4 separate regions of the Homo sapiens genome follow, and all the other regions are linked to region 4. The links are contacts of gene promoters, found by promoter capture Hi-C in blood cells and fetal thymus (Javierre and others, 2016). All regions are on one chromosome and are shown on one strand. Each heading gives the region's core, a stretch centred on a gene start or on the middle of the fragment in contact. The rest is flanking DNA. Distances are from core to core; before and after follow the strand shown. Region 1 has its middle 11 kb from the start of COL14A1. Region 2 has its middle 12 kb from the start of CCN3. Region 3 has its middle 32 kb from the start of CCN3. Region 4 holds the start of TAF2 (TATA-box binding protein associated factor 2).

Region 1 (3,205 bases), core at 398-2,897, 280 kb after region 4:
AGGAAGCATGCATTCCACCTGGGCAGATAAGAAAGAAACAATCTAAATATCAGAGTTGAGAGCAGAGCTCTCTAAAATTAATATGTATATTTTTTCCAAAATACACAATAATGACTATAAGGGATCAAGGGAGCCAAAGATAAGTTCTCCCTGGGATAGTATTGAGCAGGAACTTGAAGGAGGGGTGGGTTCTGTTTAGGTAGATGGGAATAGAAAAGTGTTCATATGGTTTAACATCAGAAAAAGGGCAGAATTAGGAAAATTCTATTTGGGTGTCAGGGAATAATACAAGAGCAAACTTTTAGGAAGTGCTTACTAAGTAATAGGTGAAGAGCCTTCCAGATATTATAAAATTAAATCTCCTAAACACGATAAGAGGTAACTATAACTACCATGCTACAATGTGGATAAAGTAACATGTCTGGCTCTGACTTCAGAACTCACATCCTTAATCTACATTATAAAGTTTGTCCAGGAGGTTGAGTGGACATAAGATAGGAAAGTTAGGCTAAGGCAGACACGGAGGAACTTGATTACTAAGCTAATATATTTACACCTTATTCTGTTTAAAGGAGCCACCACTGGGAGGATCAGAGCAGGTGAAGGATGTAAGTAAAGTGGGTTTGCTCCTGCAGGAATATACAGACTGTTGATCTCAACCTTGGCTGTGTGCTAGAATCACTGAGAAGATTCTGATAAAATACCCATGTCTGCCCCTGCTCCTGGTCAGCTAAATAAGACACTCTGGGTTGCTCATTTCCCTCATTTACTTAAAACTTTCCATTGCCAAGATATAGTCAAAATACTTACCTTGGCATACAAGGTTGTCCAAGGTCTGATCCTTGTTCACCTCTTGTGTCTCACATCACCCATCTTTATTTATTTATTTATTTATTTATTTATTTATTTATTTAGAGACAGGGTCTTGCTCTGTCACCCAGGCTGGACTGTGGTGGCGTGATCTGGGCTCACTGCAACCTGTGCCTCCCAGGCTCAAGCGATCCTCCCATCTCAGCCTCCAGAGTACCTAGGACTATAGGCACGTGTCATCATGCCTGGCTAATTTTTAATTATTATTATTATTATTATTATTATTATTATTTTGTAGAGATAAGGTCTTATTCCCAGGCTGGTTCCCAACTCCTGGGCTCAAGTGATCCTCCCAAAGTCTTGGGATTACAAAGGCTCTGAGCCACTCCACCTGGTCTTAAGTCTCTCCTCTGATTTCACCAAACTCTGCTCATTCAAAATAATTTGGGCCTATGCAAGCTCTCTCTTGCCCGATGACTTTGTTTTCTTGTTCTTTTTTTCAATTGTTTGGTTGAAAACCCAAGGACTTAATAAAAGCTTTTCTTTCTTTTCAGAATGCTTTTGTTTCATATCTTCTCAAGGCTGGCTGTCTCTCTTTTTGTCAGCCTAAAGGTCACCTCCTCACCTATGTACTTCTTGATCATTCTACCTGAATAAGTTGCATAATACCTGCACTCTTGCCCCTCAGCCCGCTACCATCAGAGCACTTCATGTTTTGTCAGTGTGTGTTTGTGTAGCTGGACTCTAGACTCCACAAGGCCAACGGACTTGTTTTGCTCACCCCATGCATACTCAGAGCCCAGCAGTAATATCTGTGGCATAAGTTAATGAGAAGGCATATCTTGAATAACTTAGTTAATGTCACCCAACTCATGAGGGCAAAGCCTGGAGACGAACACAAGCTCGAAACCATCATGGTGCTCTGCTGGAATATGGTGGTTTGCTCATTCATTCTTGCTTTTGTTCATTCATTCAGAGAACATGTTTTGGATTGATAATATATGCTAAGCCAGGTGCTAGGGACACAGATAAAATGGTCATTGATCCTGAGAACATAATCTGGACAACTTTAAGTGAATACAGTCACAGAGGGAGCAGGGCACTGCCAACTGATTTCAGTGCTCAGCTTGGTTTCCTCTAAGCTTCTGTACTGAGGCTATTACAGGGTAGAGAAATTCTCAGTCTAGTGGCCCATGGTGAATTTTCAGACAAATCTGAAGGTTTTGGATTGAAATAGTAAAAAGTTTGAGAACAAAAGTTTCATCAATTAATTAACACGTCAAAGGGCACAGATCAGAAGAGATACTAACTTGAACCACAACTTACATGAATAACAGCTGAAAACAAAACAAATAACAAATTTCGCAGAACACTTCACCACAGCATAATGAACAGAATTTTCCAAAACCTAGACCCATATGAGATTTTCTATCTCATGCGTTCTCTGTCTCTCTGCTCTCTCAATTCTCTAAAAGAAGAGATCTCTGTGGTTTTCTCTTTATTTCTAGCTCTGTGTGCTTCTCATTTCTCTGGAAAATCTAAAATGTCCTCAGAGAGGACTTTCTGGCCCTCTTCAATCTTCCCAAGGCTGATTCTTGAAATGCTGCCTTAGGATGTCTTTCCTTTGGTTTAAAGTTTTGCTCCTATTAATATTTTAAATTTCTTTGTAGTCTCAGTGGATATATCTTGGTGGTTATATGTTATCCAAAATTTTTTTCTGGGGTGTAGGTTCTTGGAGGAAGTCTCACCAGAGGCCTGAGGCTAGCCTTGGTGAATCTATGGACTATGCTGTATATGGAAGCAACAGCCTGAATAGCAGGAAATAATCTGAGACGTAGCTTTAGGCTCGATGTACAATGCAATCACCACTTCTTTCTTTTCCTTTAGCAACATATTGGCTTGACCAATAGGCAACAGGTAACAGGTAACAATGCTTCATCCTTGTCATCAGTTTTTACTGTTTTTTGGGGGTGTGTGTTATTATTGTGGCTTCTTCAGAATAGTCAAGTAATTTTCCTTAAAAGAGAAAAAATAGGCAACATGAAATTAAGTTGATTAAAAGAATGTGAATGGGAAAATAGATCAGCATAGTGTTAAGGATATTAGCTTTGGTGACATTTGAATTCTCACTTCCATTTACAGACTCCATAGTAATCTTGGTAATCTCCTCTCTCCACCCTAGTTCCCTCTTCTGCAAATAAAGAGTGTAATAGTACCACTTTATAGACCCCCTAGAGATGCTTCTTAGCTGGTCTACTCTTCTGGTAAGGGCATGAGTCTCATCAGGGGCGCTCGACCCTCATGACCTCATGACCCTCATGGCCTCATTACTTCCCACAGGCACTACTTCCAAATACCATCTTATTGGGGGTTTGGGCTTCAACCTATGAATTTT
Region 2 (3,232 bases), core at 567-3,066, 400 kb before region 4:
TTAAAGGCAGTCAGAAAATGTGATCTGATGTACAAATATTTGCAAATTTCGGAACATTCTAGTAACACAGCAAGGCAGGAAACATTGACTGAGCAGAGTTTAGGGCTGCAGAAAGAGCACAGGCTTGAGAATTATCCAAGCCTGGGTCTGAATGCCAGGCCTACTCTTTCCCAGCTATGGGATACTGGGCTCTCTGCACAGTCTCTGGAGCTCAATTTTCACATCTGTAAGATGAGACCATGTATGGATAGGGTGACCGACTGCTCCAGTTTATCTCGTTTTAGGAGTCAGGACTTTTCAGTTATAAAATCAGGACAGTCCCAGGCAAACTGGGAGAAGTTGGTCACCCTAAATATCAACCTCATAGTATTACAATATATATTCATAAGCGCTTGACTGTGCCTGGCACATAGTAGGTCTGCAAATGGCAGCTGCTGATATAAGTGTTTAGTAGAGCCAAGCATTGCCCCTTATTCTACACATTTAATGTTCAAAGGTAGACATTATTGACCTTATTTTTACATGGAAAGATGAAGAAACTCAAAGAAGTTAATGACCTATTAAGGACACAGTAAATGAAGGAGCTAGGATTCAAACTCAGGGTCTGTCTGAGCTCAGAGCCAAAGCTCTTTCCTTTACACAGTGCCACAGACACTGAGGCCAAGTATATTTTCAGCAACCAAAACAATTCCAACAGTTTCATTTTTGTGCTATTTTCCCAAACTATAAATGTTCTCTTTTAGTAACAGCATTGCAAAGTATTGAGACTGTTGAGATCATTCTATGAATGTCACATTTTGAAAGCACTTAATTGCTGGTGTAGTGATAACTCACATTTCATTGAAAATTATTTGGGGATTTTTCTTTTCTTTTTCCACACAAAGATTCAATTCAACAATGAGGTAAGAACATCTTTAACTATACAAAGAGCTAATTTGTTACATACATATCTGTACTTGATGAGATTATCAGTGAAGCTTTGGTGGAGATTTCTGGGCAGTACTAGATTTCTCTCACAATGTCTTCCTTGTAGGTACATGTTGTCATCCTTCCAAATGGGTTTCACTCCAAAATGTTCAACATCACAAGTCAAATCATCAAAACAGTATGTCCTTTTGGCTATGGGCTATAGGGCTTAGTTTGACAATCCAATATTGTTGGAAATGTATTCATCTTAACCACACTGCACAGTTCTTGCAGGCATTCTTATGCTGTCTGGACCACAGAGGGTTCACAAAATTCAATTACTACTTCAATAACACCGCTGGCACTTGCTGAACTCTGAATAATGAAGGATTATCTGCAGCCTTCCAGCTGAGGACCGTGAATTACTGTTACATTAAGCCAGCTGTTCTGGGGATAATCAGGAGGTGCAAAGGGTAAAGATGGCAATGTTGTACCAGTCTTCCTAAAGAATGTGTGTCTTTCTCCTTAGGACAAAAAAAATGGTCTGAATTTCAGCCCAGTATACAATTCCATTCAAATGACAAGGTTTCACAGAATGAACAGCCCACAGGTCCTACTGGAAGGAAATTGGCAACAAATATTTTATAATCCAAGCAGAAAATGTGGCTTGGACTTACATTTTATTAGCAAAATCTGAGAACCAGACTCTGCTTGTAGCATAGAATCAGAAGTTTGGAAGAAGTTATAAAGTTCTTAGCTTGGGTTAAATATGGGTCAGTATGCTCCAAGCTGACCCAAGTTTGTCCTGCTGAAGCAAGGCCACTTAGAAGATCCTGGGAGGACTTTGATACAGGAGATGCTAGTAAGTGGGCATTCTAGCTCCTCTGAAAGTTGAGCAGTGAGAATCTTCCCCAATAATTTGTAGAAAATCATAGCCCCCAGAAAAGAGAATAAAGACCATAAGGATCCTGTTAAGTGTACCATGTTATCTCCCTAAATTCCATTTCATGGTTCAAGAATCCACTCTAAGTTCACCTTCTCTAAGAAGCCTTCTTCACCAGCACTCTTTTGACTACAATGAGCCTGACCCAACCTCTTTTGTGCCCAACTGCTCTTTGTAACAATTACTATCATAGCAGCTGAAACACCATCTCTGTTACTTGTTTGTATGTGTGTTTCCCACGAAACCCTAAGCTCCATGAGAGCAAGGACCTTGTCTGGTTTTCTCACGGCTGTTTTACACAGTGATTCTCAAGGTTGTTCAGCACAGTATTCCAAACAGCTGAACAGACTGAACACTTATTATCTAACCATCTAGCAGCAAAAACCCAACATTTCAGGCCAAAATTTCTATAGCTTCTCACATTTTCTCCTAAAAATGCAAGTACTTTTTGACTTCTCCTTAATCTTCAAGTAAAATTGATGCTCCAGAAAAATGAACCATGTTTACACTGAGACCTCTTGCATCTTCTTGCATATTTCATGTAGTCAAATTAGCAGTAATAATAAAAAAGATTCCAAATTCTATCTCAATTTAGGTGCCATCAATTGTAAGGTATACTATTAATGTACATATCAAAAAGAAATTTTAAAATTCTGTCAATTGGCTCAGGACACATCATCAATTGGAACACTCATATCACTTTCAGAAATGAAAAAAAAAATCTAATGTTTATTTTAGAATATATGAAATTTAGGGAAAAAATGAAAAAGGAGGAAGTGGAGGAAGAGGAAAAAACTGACATTTATCAAGCTTATTAGGTTCTAGACACTATGCAAAGTGCTTTACGTAGATTACTTTATTTCCTTTAATTCTTATAACAGTCCTTTGAGGTCAGTACTATTTTATCTCAAAATTACAGATGAGGAAAATGAAGCTTTAGAAAGAAAAATAGCTTGCATGGCATCATAAACCTATTATGTGGTAAAGCCAGAATATGAATCCTCACATTCTGAATCCAAAATGTGTATATTTACTCTGCCTTATTGCCTATATTCTGGGTTTCATGTACTCCATTTGGAGAAACAAGTAATTGTTGCACAAGAAACTTGAAAGAATGAATGAATGAATGACCAGCTAATAAGCTGTAAAGGATTTGTGCCTGGATATTGGTCACCACCTGAGGAACTTCCCCGACAGGATGCATGGGGGCCATATGCAGATCTTTGCCAAGGAAAACAGTTGATTTTGGCCAACAATTTTGTGACCAAGAACTGTTAGGAATATGGTCCTGAGCTTTTCACTGGCCCCTGAAATTAAGGTAGTGGTCTTTCTTTTCTGGATTAATTAAGTAATTGATCAAGTCAACAAAAACGTAGTGATCAT
Region 3 (3,293 bases), core at 715-3,214, 380 kb before region 4:
TGCGATCTCGGTTCACTGCAACCTCTGCCTCCTGGGTTCAAGCTATTCTCCTGCCTCAGCCTCTCGAGTAGCCGGGATTACAGGTGAGTGCCACCACGCCTGGCTAATTTTTGTATTTTCAGTAGAGACGGGGTTTCACCACGTTGACCAGGCTGGTCTTGAACTCCTGACCACCCGTGATCCACCCACTTCAGCCTCCCAAAGTGCTGGGATAACAGGCATGAGTCACCATGCCTGGCTGGCTTTAAGTTTTTCATCTGGTTCAACTAACACTATTTCTGCTCAGAGAAAGGAAGGATTAAAAGGGAAAGTCATGAGCTGCTGCTTTTTTTTCTTAAATTGAGGTGAAATTTGCGTAACATAGAAATAACCATTTCAACTTGAATAGCTCTGTAGTAGATAGTACACTTATCAGTTGCTTTTGTTACTAAGTAACTCAGAACAATGTGAGGCTCCTATTGGAAGAAATTCTCAGAGAATTTGGAAATGGAAACTACTAGGAAATGCCCCCTACCTGGTAGATTATACTGGTTGGAGGTCAAGACCCCGATGCCCCATCACCCGGGAGAAGGAGAGAAAGGGAAATCCTGGAATTTACTAAAGATGGCTGGGGTATAAAATTAACTATAAAATAAAACTGGAAAGGAGACACTTTGTATGAATTTAGGGTTTCATTTGAAATTGTAGTTATCCCAAAGAAGGTAAGAATGACCAAGTAACTATTAAAGCTCTAGTTATCAGAATTTTCCCATTGGATTGAAAAGATTTGGAATGAATGACAGATCAGTTTCTTCTCATACACTCCCACTATCAGGTAGCAAAAGGGAGAAAATAGCCATGAAAAGAGAAGAGAGGTATGGAAGTAAGGATTAGTGGTGCTGACTGGCTCTCAGTTTTATTTTAACTTTTAAATCATCCTGTCTTTCATCTAGAGAATAATGATGTTGGGAAAAATTTCCCCATTAGAATAACTTTACCCCAAATAAAGAACAATGAAACTAGCAAACCCTTAGTCAAAATTTGGAGGAACTCACAGCTTGAAGTATTATAAGATTACTATAAATTTCTCCCCAAAGCTATGATTTCTGTTTCACAGAAGAAATATGCCCAATGACTACATGATTAGAAGTTAGAATGGATATCAGTTCCACCCCTTTTTATTTTATAGGTAAGGACACTGAAAACCCCAACTCCACTCAACAGAAATATTTTTGATCCTGGATAGAGTTACTGGGAACATATTCCAATAAATCTTTATGAGTGTATTTTTAACATAAGCATAACTATAAGCTAATTCATTCATATAAATTAGCACTTCTGCCAGTTAATAGGGGAAGAAGAGGGACAGAAATATAAATACATACAATGATCTATTCCTCTCCTCACGAGTTCTATAAATAATATTTCATCATTGAAACAAAACTTATAATACCTCCTGATACTCAAGACAATGATATTTAAAAGTGGAAAAGGCAAAAGGAACCGAAATGGAAGTAAGGTTTCCATGCTTTACTTGAATTAATAAAGTATTGATACATTGACTGCAATAAGTCACATATATATATTATAATATCCAGAGCAACCACTAAGAAAATTATACAAAGATATGTACCAAAAAACACTATAAATAAATCAGTGGAGGCCAGGCACAGTGGCTCACAGCTGTAATTCCAGCACTTTGGGAGATTGAGGCGGGTGGATCACTTGAAGTCAGTTTGAGATCAGCCTGGCCAACACGGCAAAGCCCCATCTTTACTAAAAATACAAAAAAAAAAATTTAGCCGGACATGGTGATGCACACTTGTAGTCCCACCTACTCAGGAAGCTGAGGCAGGAGAATTGCTTGCACCTGGAGGTGGAGGTTGCAGTGAGCCGAGATGGTGCCACTGCACTCCAGCCTGGGTGATAGAGTGGGACTGTGTCACAAAAACAAACAAACAAATCAAAACAAAACAGAAAACCCTGACACTGGGTAATTCATAAAGAAAAGAGGTTTGGTTGGCTCATGGTTATGCAGACTCTACACTGACATCACTCAGCTTCTGAGGAGGCCTCAGGGAACTTTCAGTATAATGGCAGAAGGTGAGCAGGAAGCAGGCATGTCATGAGGCCAAAGAGGAACAAGTAGGGTTGGGTGGGGGAAATTGCCACATACTTTTAAATGACCAGATCTTGCAAGAACTAGCTCAGAACCACAAAAACAGCACCAAGCTGTGAGGGATCTACCCCCATGACCCAAACACCTCCTACCAGGGCCCAACTCCAGTACTGGGGATTACAATTTAACATGAGATTTGGGCAGGGACAAATACCCAAACTACATCACATTTCTTGCTTTCCAGTCACACTAAGTCTTCTTGAAAGAATAGTCTATGCTCCCTTCTCTACTTTGTTGTTGTATCTTACTTATGGCTGCAAGAAACAGACTACTCAACTAAAAATTTCCCCAAACAAATTGGATTCTATTGACTCGCATAATAAGCTAGGAGATACGTGGCCTCCAGCATTTGTTTAATGCACAATAATATCTTCAGATATGTAAGTTCATTCCTTTCTTTGATTCCCTCATCCTCAGATGGTGTCCTCATGTCTTTAAGAGCATCTCCAGGGATCACATCCTCACACAACTACTTAGACAGGAGGAACAGGAGGAACAGGAGACAAGGAAGAAGGCTCTTCTTAATCATTGTTCTCTTTCTTTTCTTTTCTCTTTTTTTTTCAGACAGAGTCTTGCTCTGCCACCAGGCGGGAGTGCAGTGGCATGATCTCAGCTCACTGCAACCTCTGCTTCCCGGGTTCAAGTGATTCCCCTGCCTCAGCCTCCCGAATAGCTGGGACTACAGGCACGCGACACCATGCCTGGCTAATTTTTTTGTATTTTAGTAAAGACAGGGTTTCACCATGTTGGCCAGGATGGTCTCCATCTCCTGACCTTGTGATCTGCCTGCCTTGGCCTACCAAAGTGCTGGGATTACAGGCGTGAGCCACCACACCCGGCCCCCGGCCCTCTTCCTTTTCATCTGTGAGAAAAAGTTCCCTAGCGGTCTTTCTGTAGTTCCCCTTGATCAGATTTAAATCGCATGGCCATCTCTACTAACAAGGAAAACCACAAAAGCATTTTAAGACTCTATCCCAGCAGGAGACTCTGCCTGTAGGGAAGAAGTGAAGAGAGTGGCCCTTGGTAAATTGGCCAAGAGAATTGGCTATGCTCATCATCCTTTTAGTTTAAAGAGACAGCAGTGTCTGGGGAGTGCAGTGGTGGAGCATGCGAACTTTAAGCCCCTTTTCTGTTT
Region 4 (3,061 bases), core at 447-2,946:
GCTTTTTCCTAAAATTGATTATATCAGCAATCCATACATCTAAATTGTGTCGGGAGGCAGGGGGAGGTAGAGGGTTTCTAGATCTCAAATACTCTATCTAAAACTTCATTACAAAGCAACATCACCTAAACCAAGTCAGTCAAGAAGCAAAAATGGCCTCTTAGAAGCCAAGTCAGTGAGTGTATTAATCTTAATTTTTTTCATAGAAGAAATGTCGCTATGGGCTTATACTTGTTTCATGCACAATTATAAAATGCTTGGCTATACAGGCTTTCATATTATACACCAGATAAAGAGGAATAAAATTTTAATTAGGAAATTGAAAAAAAAGGAAAGGGAGAATTTGGGAGGCAATAGGTATTAATAGAAGGACCATGGAACTTGTAATCATACAGACCCTAATTTTAATTCTTACCTATTCTTGAAACACAATTATCTGGAAGACTACAAACTTTCTAAGTACTGTGAGGGGTGGATTGTTACTCTTTATAGTGGACTTGTTACTATTTATAATTGTTGAGAATAAACTTACCACAACAGATTTTCTCTGGAAATTTATGTTGTTGATGCAGACGACCTGATGGGTTGTATATTAATAAATATAAAAAGAAAATAAGGAAAAAATAATTTTTATTATTAAATCAAAGTATAATTCTATCCAAGTATAAATTAGGACTATGTTCTAAGTAATTCAAAATTACATGTCAATATTTCATTTTAAAACTACGAATTGGGGCCTGGTGCGGTGGCTCACGCCTGTAATCCCAGCACTTTGGGAGGCCACGGCAAGCGGATCACGAGGTCAAGAGTTCGAGACCAGCCTGGCCAACAGAGTGAAACCGAGTCTCTACTAAAAATACAAAAGTTAGCCGGGCATCGTGGCACACGCCTGTAATCCCGGCTACTCAGGAGGCTGAGCCAGGAGAAAAGCTTGAACCCGGCAGGTGGAGGCTGCAGTGAGCCGAGATCGCGCCGTTGCACTCCAGCCTGGGCGACTGAGAGACTCCGTCTTAAAAATTAAAAAATTAAAAAAAAAAAAACACTCTACCAATTGGGATAATTTTTTAAAATCTAGCAACAGTCACGAAAACAGATTTGACAGAAATACAATCTAGTACTTAGACAAAAACTTTAGTAACTTGCAACGGGAATTAAATTTGCTGAATAACCTGTCATTCAAAACATTTTTACCTTACAAACACCATTTCCATCACAGTGAGTAAATTCTAGTTTCCCACTAGGTTTCCCAGGCCCACCAAGTCAATTTCAAGCAATCGCAAAATATAATTAATGGCAACAAAACCAAAAGGAAGGAAGGGAAATGAAAAAATACTTATAATTTATATGGCCTTGGGCTTTCAAAGCCCTTGTCTCCTTTCTTCCTGTTCATTCTGGCGGGCTCTACACCAGTCAGCGGCATGAAGCGGTCCCGCGGAGCTTGGCTTCCCGGCTTCCTAGGGGGATACGGGGCATTACTAGTCTTTGGCACCTCACACTCTCCACTCCCCTGCGGTCCCCAAGTCACGTCTCGCAGCTGGCCGGTGCCCAGGTGAGCGACCTGACGGGTCGCTGCCCGCCTCAACCTCGCTCCTTCGACTAGCTCCTAGAAGCCGCCGTCGACAAGCTTCTGTCACAGAGATGCTCCTCTCCGCAAGGGCTCGAAGCTACCATCCGCCGACATCTTGTCTGTAACCTCTGACCTCCGACGTCAGCGGAAGTGGAACGGCGGCGGGGGTAGAACCAGGAAGTCTTGTCAATGGGCAGGGCTTGCGATCTTCGCATGTGTCTTATCGTAAAGAATTGTTAAAATTTAGGATAGGGAAAAAACTATTTAATGGATGAAGCGAGAACAGCAGGAAGAAAAGGAGGGAAGGTAGTTTTCTAGTACAAGCATATTGAGAAGAATGGAGGACAAAGTTTGCGAAGAGCCAGGTATAAATAGGCTGGGGCAGGGTGCTAGTAACTGGGCGGGGTGGGGTGGTGGGAAGTCTCCCGAAATCAGGAGGTGCGTGCCTCTGGCTTGCTGTGTGAACAGACACACTGGGTCCGGTGATTTAAGCTGTAAAATATGTGATTAGACTGCAGGTAGTCTAAATGTCAAAACTGCAGCACTCCACAGCTCTCACTAGGCACTGCTGCCTTAGTATTTATTTTAAAATATAGATTACAAGGCCGGGCGCAGTGGCTCACTCCTGTAATCCCAACACTTTGGGAGGCCGAGGCGGGCCGATCATTTGAGGTCAGGAGTTCGAGACCAGCCTGACCAACATGGTGAAACCCCGTCTCTACTAAAAATTACACAAAATTAGCTGGGCGTGGTGGTGCACGCCTGTAATCCCAGCTACTTGGGAGGCTGGGGCAGGAGAATTGCTTGAACCTGGGAGACGGAAGTTGCAGCGAGCTGAGATCGTTCCACTGCACTCCAGCCTGGGCGACAGAGCTGAGACTGTCTCAGAAAAAAAAAAAAAGAATAAAATATAGACTACAGGCCAGGCGTGGTGGCTCACGCCTGTAATCCTAGCACTTAGGGAAACTGAGGCAGTCATATCACTTGAGGTCAGCAGTTCAAGACCAGCCTGGCCAACATGGTGAAAGCCCGTCTCTAGTAAAAATACAAAAATTAGCCCTGCGTCGTGGCGTGCGCCTGTATTCCCAGCCACTCGGGAGGGTGAGGCACCAGAATCACCTGAACTCGGGAAGCCGAGTTTGCAGTGAGCTGAGATCATGCCATTGCACTCCAGTCTGGGAGACAAAGCGAGACTCCCTCTCAAAATAAATAAATAGACTACATAGAGATATATAGACTGTGTATATATATCATATAATCCATATAAATGCAGAAACATTTATTGAAAGACATTTCGAAGCCATCGTGTTTGTATTTCATGTTCATGACAATAAAACTTGTAAACTTCAGTAACAGTTAAACCTTCTTTAATTATGGATTAGCCATTAACATTTTTGAAACGTGGACCATTTAACCTCGGCCTACCCCCTCCAACTGTCCTGGTGATGAGTTCATTAGCTAAGTTAAAATTAATTTGAACTTTGATCTAAACCA

The links. Contacts are between HindIII fragments. The CHiCAGO score rates a contact against its expected background, and 5 or more counts as called.
Region 1: a fragment that was not itself captured here is called in contact with the fragment with the promoter of TAF2 in region 4 in 1 of 17 cell types (monocytes); the score reaches 5.5 in monocytes.
Region 2: a contact is called between a fragment that was not itself captured here and the fragment with the promoter of TAF2 in region 4, in 1 of 17 cell types (neutrophils). The highest score is 6.3, in neutrophils.
Region 3: a contact is called between a fragment that was not itself captured here and the fragment with the promoter of TAF2 in region 4, in 1 of 17 cell types (neutrophils). The highest score is 8.0, in neutrophils.

The regions. Positions count from the first base shown.
Region 1 is chr8:120,112,187-120,115,391 of GRCh38, forward strand. No RefSeq gene overlaps it. Among named protein-coding and RNA genes, the nearest start is that of COL14A1, 11 kb to the right of the region's middle. The HindIII fragment of the contact is 605 bases long and covers 1,346-1,950 here.
Region 2 is chr8:119,426,579-119,429,810 of GRCh38, forward strand. No RefSeq gene overlaps it. Among named protein-coding and RNA genes, the nearest start is that of CCN3, 12 kb to the left of the region's middle. The HindIII fragment of the contact is 1,682 bases long and covers 976-2,657 here.
Region 3 is chr8:119,446,795-119,450,087 of GRCh38, forward strand. No RefSeq gene overlaps it. Among named protein-coding and RNA genes, the nearest start is that of CCN3, 32 kb to the left of the region's middle. The HindIII fragment of the contact is 8,788 bases long and covers 1-3,293 here.
Region 4 is chr8:119,831,145-119,834,205 of GRCh38, forward strand. TAF2 (TATA-box binding protein associated factor 2) reads right to left here and starts at 1,697. Exons shown (of 26, transcript NM_003184.4): 1 at 1,338-1,697; 2 at 533-587. The coding sequence starts at 1,420. DSCC1 (DNA replication and sister chromatid cohesion 1) reads right to left here. Exons shown (of 9, transcript NM_024094.3): 9 at 2,832-3,061. LOC105375728 (a long non-coding RNA gene) reads left to right here and starts at 1,735. Exons shown (of 4, transcript XR_928590.3): 1 at 1,735-1,932. RefSeq lists enhancers at 1,349-1,398, 1,459-1,818. The HindIII fragment of the contact is 3,868 bases long and covers 1,623-3,061 here.